Regions from separate parts of the Homo sapiens genome. Here region 1 is linked to region 2. The links are contacts of gene promoters, found by promoter capture Hi-C in blood cells and fetal thymus (Javierre and others, 2016). All regions are on one chromosome and are shown on one strand. The core of a region is centred on a gene start or on the middle of the fragment in contact, and the rest is flanking DNA. Distances in the headings are between cores, read along the strand shown. Region 1 holds the start of STOML3 (stomatin like 3). Region 2 holds the start of LHFPL6 (LHFPL tetraspan subfamily member 6).

The links. Contacts are between HindIII fragments. The CHiCAGO score rates a contact against its expected background, and 5 or more counts as called.
Region 1: the fragment with the promoter of STOML3 here is called in contact with the fragment with the promoter of LHFPL6 in region 2 in 2 of 17 cell types (activated CD4 T cells and non-activated CD4 T cells); the score reaches 5.7 in activated CD4 T cells.

The regions. Positions count from the first base shown.
Region 1 is chr13:38,989,429-38,992,399 of GRCh38, reverse strand. It overlaps STOML3 (stomatin like 3), which reads left to right and starts at 1,569. Exons shown (of 7, transcript NM_145286.3): 1 at 1,569-1,730. The coding sequence starts at 1,679. The HindIII fragment of the contact is 645 bases long and covers 1,021-1,665 here.
Region 2 is chr13:39,601,297-39,604,578 of GRCh38, reverse strand. LHFPL6 (LHFPL tetraspan subfamily member 6) reads left to right here and starts at 1,386. Exons shown (of 4, transcript NM_005780.3): 1 at 1,386-1,696; 2 at 3,189-3,282. It overlaps LOC112268119 (protein SPT2 homolog), which reads right to left and starts at 3,255. Exons shown (of 4, transcript XM_035861111.2): 1 at 3,186-3,255; 2 at 2,039-2,129; 3 at 937-1,935. The coding sequence starts at 3,255. RefSeq lists a silencer at 1,192-1,491. The HindIII fragment of the contact is 2,884 bases long and covers 127-3,010 here.

The DNA.
Region 1 (2,971 bases), core at 320-2,819, 610 kb after region 2:
ACAAAATAATACAATATAATATAATAAATGCCATACAATAAATATAATGGTATACAAAAGAAAAACAAGATATATTTGGGATATTGATATGAGAGAAATGAACATCAGAAAATTAGAAAATTGGTGTTCTTAGTATTGGAATAACCACAAAATTGTCTGTGGTTCTATGTGGTCTGATGAAAGAAGGAATCCTAGTACAGGATCCTAAGGATCTGGATTTGAGAAAGAGCTTTGCCATTTGAGAGCTGTTTTCATTTGTGATTTATATATTCATTCATTCAGCAAGTATTGTTGAACATCAATCATGTGCCCACGTTGTTCTAATTGTTGCAGATGCAATGGAAATGTTAGACCAAGTCACTCTCCTCATGGAAATGTATAGTGCAAGGCAGGGGTCAGCAAACTTTTTTTGTGAAGGGACAAACAGTAAATATTTTAGGCCTTACAGCTTGTATGGTCTGTGTCACAACTACTCAAATCCACGGGTGCAGTGCAAAAGTGAGCACAGACAATACAAAAATGAAAGAGCTGGGCATGGTGGCTCATATCTACAATCCCAGCAGTTTGGGAGACCAAGGCTGAAGGATCATTTGAGCCCAGAGTTTGAGACCAGCCTGGGCAATATAGTGAGGCCCCATCTCTAAAAAAAAAAAAAATTAAAAATTAGCCAGGTATGGTGGTGTGCACCTGGAGTCCCAGCTGTTGAAGAGGCTGAGGTAGGAAGATTGCTTGAGCCTGGCAGGTCGAGATTGCAGTGAGCTGTGATTGTGCCACTGCACTCCAGCCTGGGCAACAGAGTGAAATCCTATCTCAAAAAAAAAAAAAAAAAAAAGAAAGCAACAAAAGGACATACTGTGTTCCAATAACACTTTATGTTTTAAAAACAAGTGGTAAATTAAATTTAGCTGGCAAGCTAAAGTTTGTCAATTCTTGGTCTAGAAGAAGAAACAGACACAAGCCAAAAAATTATGCATATGATAACACGTGCAAAGATCCGGTGGCGAGAAGACATATCAAGCTTTGGAGGCACTGATAGGAGACCAATGGAGCTGCTTCACGGAGAGACACATGAGTGAGGCTGGAAAGGGAGGAAGGGGCAGGCCAGCAGGGTCTTGTAGGACACTTAGGAGTTTGGTCTTTACAATATTGACAGTTGGCAATTTTTTGATTATTTTAAGCAGGATGAAGACATGATCAGATTTGAGTTTCAAAAGCTCACTCACTGCAGTGTTAGAATGAGTTGGGTTAAATTTTCTCATCTGAAACATAAGGATGGATACACTTGCCCTGTGTATTGAACAGGTCATTGTGTAATCAGTGATCACACAAGATTTATACAAGGTGCATAGAAGTGTTTTATGAAATATAAATGCTATAGAAAATTACACAGCAATATTTTACAGGAAGCAATACCACCAGATGGTCATATTCTTTCAAGTTTTTTCTGTGAACAAAGGCAGTCTGAACTCATAAAAGAAATCTTTTTGTTTATGTTATCAGGCTTCCCTCACCAGGGTAACTACCCCTTAGGGAGTTCACTAAAGAGAAGGAATGTCTTTCACTCTCTCATACTTTCTCCTCTCCCCTCTCCCAAGCACATCTGAGTTGCTGCCTGTTCTTCACACTTAGCTCCAAACCCATGAAAAATTGCCAAGTATAAAAGCTTCTCAAGAATGAGATGGATTCTAGGGTGTCTTCACCTGAGAAGCAAGATAAAGAGAATTTCGTGGGTAAGTTCCTTTTTCCTGTCTTAGGCTTGTTTTTTACATATATGGCAAAGCAGGAGTTGTAGCATTATAGACAGGTATAGAGTAAGTATGAGATATATTTGCAGAAATCGGCCTCAATTTCATTTATAGCCCAGGATTTTGAATTCATTGCTTATGCTGATTTCATTTGCTTCTTGAACGGCAGTCTATAACTTGCTTTATTTTTCCTTCAATTTTAGATAAAGTTGGTGTTTATCTTTGAATTTCTTCTTTCTGTATGAAATCCTTCTCAGGATTTTGAATTCATTGCTTATGCTGATTTCATTTGCTTCTTGAACAGCAGTCTATAACTTGCTTTATTTTTCATTCAATTTTAGATAGAATTGGTGTTTATCTTTGTATTTCTTCTTTTTGTATTAAATAACAAAGATATGTTGAAGAGGCTGACTTTTCTCCAACTTCAAACATTTTCTGATGATGCTGAGATTAAAAAGAAAAGTTGGTTTGAGCTGTATCCTGTTTGATAAATGGAGAGAAGTTGAGAAAAAAAACTTAGCTTATAAGTACCAACTACTATCATTAATACTAATGACTATTATGTGTTACAAAGCATTTTGCTTGCATTATCTCTTTCAATTTTACAATAATTCTGAGGTAGATCCTCTTAGAATCTCATTTTACAAATGAGAAAACTGAGCATTGGAAAGTTTAAAAAGTTGTTCAGAAAGTGATTATGATGATGGTGTGCGTGTGTGTGTGTGTGATGATGGTGTGAGTGTGCGTGTGTGTATGACCTAACCTGTGCTCTGTACCTTATGTTGCCAAAAAAGCCATAGTACATGTTAGAAATAGAGAACACGTTTGGCATTACTAATACATAAAAGAAAAAACTAGGCTGCATGCACTGGTGCATGCCCTGTAATCGCAGCACTTTGGAAGGCCAAGGCAGGCAGATCACTTGAGCTCAGGAGTTCGAGACCAGCCTGGGCAAAATGGCAAAAACTCATCTCTACAAAAAATACAAAATTTAGCCAGGTGTGGTGGCACATGCCTGTGGCTAAGTGGGAGGTTGAGGTGGGAGGATTGCTTGAGCCCAGGAGGTTTAGGCTTCAGTGAGCTGAGATTGCACCACTGTACTCCAGCCTGGGTGACAGAGTGAGACCCTGCCTAACAAAGAAAAAAAAATGGAATAAAGAAAGAAAAAAGAAAAAGTATACATTTAGAGACATTTACCTGAATTGGAAAAGAAACTTTTCTTTTGA
Region 2 (3,282 bases), core at 137-2,636:
CAGAATCTCGGGTCTTTACCAACTAGATGCCAGTAATACTCCCCATTCATGGGTTATGATAATCAAAATTATCTTCAGACCTTGCCAAATATCCCTTTCCTTCTTCAGAATCGCTGTGGTAAAGCTTTATATGTCCGCGCATTTTTTTTTCTGGAAGGCTTATCAGTTTCATCGTATTTTTTAAAAGACCTGTGACCTCAAAAGGCTTGGAATCAATCACTTAAGGTCTTTCAAAATAATAATAAAAGAACACATATCTCCAGCTGTCGTTGTGGGAAAAATGTACACCATCACGGCTAATTAAAATGGTGCAGTCTGAAAATCTGCTATGAAATATATACCTACCAATTTATTACTTTCAACTCCTCTAAAAAGACACCTCACAAAAACTATATCTGGGAAACTGTCTACTTCAAAAACTGCTGTTCCCAGATGGCATACTTCTTAAAATACTGTGTTCAGCAGAGACTCCCACAGTCATCTACTGAATCTAGCTCTAAACTTCTAAAGGGGTTAGTGCTAATGACAAGTGGAAAAAGTCCTCAAGTCCAGAGGGGAACTAAAAATCAGTTGTTTCTCAGAAAAGAAATCAAACGATGGAATAAATTGCAAAATTGATCAGGAGGCAGGATGGAGGAGAAGGGAGGGAGGAAGTGAAGGGAAAGGGAGGGAGGGAGGGAGAGAGAGACAGAGAAACAGCAAGAGAGAGAGAGAGAGACCTTTGAAAGAGTGTATCTCTTGGGAGAGGCTCGCTAGAGGTCCGCCCCTGCCTTCTCCCTGGCTCGTCTGGAAAGGCAGCTGCCCCCATGCCATACATGAGCCTTGGGCTGTCTGCTGTGCTTTAATTCCCACGTCCACAACCGCCTCATTCACCGCCTTCCAAAGTGACCACTTCTCAAAAGCCTCCTCAAATCTCAAAGGGGCCACTTTACCCACTCTTTAAGGCCCTCTTTCCCGTCTACGGCTTCTTTTAACGGCGGCAGGAAAACAGGAGCATAAACCCGAACAGTAAACCCAGAAAAGCCCCAACAGGCAAAGTGTGTCATCTTCCGTGGCTCCTCGGGGTCACCCAGGAAGACAAGCAACTTTCTCCCATACTTCTCGGTCTGTCTGCCTTCCCCACTCAGCTTTGAATGAGACGCAGGGAGAGGGGGCGCGAGGGGGCTCGGGGCTAGGGGAGGAGCCGCGAAAGCTGCCCCCGGGGGTGGGCCTGGACCCGCGCGGACAGCGGGGCACCCCCCCACTCCCTTCCCGGCGCTCCAGGAACGTCCCCGGTGCGTCCTGGGTCTGTCTGCGCGGAGTTCCCCGGGGCGCGAGGGGAGGGGACTGGAGAAAGAGGAGGGCCGGGCAGCGGAGGGGAGGAGGCGGTGCGTGCCTCGCCTGCCAAAGGGAGATCCGCTCCTCTGCGTGCGATCCCCGGCGCCCGCGCGCGCCCACAGCGCTCCGCCAGAGCTGCCGCCGCGGACTCGCCGGGAGTGGGGGTCTCCGCTGGTGCCAGCCCGCTTCTGGAGACCCTCCGCCTCCTGCCAACCCCTGCTCTTCCAGGTCGGGCCCCGGGGTTCTGCGGCTGTTAGGGACAGAGGCAAAGAAGGGCAGGACGGTCCGGTTTCCCGTGGATGTTCCCGCCCGAGAAAGACAGCAAGTTGTGTGTGCGCCCGGGACGCGGGAGGGAAGGTGGCCGCCGCCCGCCAGCCATGTAAGTAAATCACTCGGCTGCCCCGTGGGCGTGGGCTCCGCTGCTTTCTCCCGGGCTCCCTCTCTGCCCCGGAGCCGGAGTTGGGCTGCTCCCGGGCTCCGGACTTCCTGAGCTCGGCGGATCCGTCGGCTCTGCCTGCCAGCCGCGTCCGCTCTTGGCGTCTGCCTCCGGGGGGTGCTGCCTTCCCATCCTTATCCCCTCCCTTCGTCCAGAGCCGGCTGGAAAATGCCTCTTGCCCCCTTTTAGAATGGAGGGATCATTGTGTGTCTCCATGGGTGGAGTGGCTCGGTGAGGCAATGGCAGGGGGCTAAATATGGGCTTGTCTTGGCGAGGGCGCCTCACCGCAGTTGGAGATGGGGGCCCCCTGCCCGCAGGCCACCCCCTGCTGGTCTTCCCCAGCCTCGTGGCCCAGATAGATCAACTTCAGCCCTGACTGCAGTTGACAAGATTAGAAAAAAAAGTAGTAGCCGACCTCCCGTTTGAGTGACATCCAGAACTGAAAATGGGCGGTGGTTAGAGAAAAAAACGGGTAGGGGCGAGGTGAAGAAAGGGGGAAATTTGCTATGGACCCTGAAAGCTGGAGTTAGGGGTCCTGGGGGTGGAATTCTAGGGTGGATGGGCTCTGTGCTTCTGTATTCATTTCTTTATGGAAAGTGTGAGAAATGGTTAAGGAACTCTTTTTGAAAGGCTGGGGTGGAAGTAGATGCCCCTGGAACCATTTGGATGACTGGGGTTTGATGTAGCATACTGGGAAGTATGGATTGCTGTTCAAATTAGACAATCATTCAGTGGGAGAAATGATTGCAATAGAACTGTTGGAATCAATGAATCAAAACTGCAGACTCAAAATAAGTCATACACAGGCATTCTTTTACACTAGAAGATGTTAAGACTAAAGAAATTCTGAAATGCTGCTGAATGAGTACAAAGAGTGTCTGGTAATAGTTCTGTACTGTGGGTGCCTCCGCAGACCATAATGCTTGTTAAATTTATGGTACTCTGCAATTGTGAAAAATTATCCTAATTAGTTTGTTTGGCTCATGCAGAGAGTTAATGCACCCTTAAAGGGACATAGAAAAGTTGCAACAAACTATGAGCATGAACTTGCAAGCCAAAAAATGGAAATCATGGCATGGTTCATTTTATTTTAATTGTTTATTGCCCAGTGAAAGTGCTACATTACTTTTAATGTGAGTATATAATATATAGAATGAATTCATTGGCCTGTCAAATAAAAATCGGGCGTTTCTTTAAGTAAATAGCTGTCAGAGTTAATTTGGAAATATTTACGGAAGATAAAGACATGAAAAAGCTTTGAGCTGGTTTGACAAAAATCGAGTTATGAAGCTCATAGAGAGAATTAGTTCTTCCCACTTTTAAAGTGTTGAGGCAAGTCTCAATGTTTATTAATTGAAAATTGTAGACTAGCTGAAACAGTGTTATCACTTCTTTTAATGCCTTTAATTTTTAATGTTTCCTGTTGTTTTACCAGGGACCATCATCTTTAGTGCAGAGGATGGAAAGTTGATGCCCAGTAAGACTGAAGATCCATTCTGCATTACGGAACTGTGGATTATCTGTGGGTC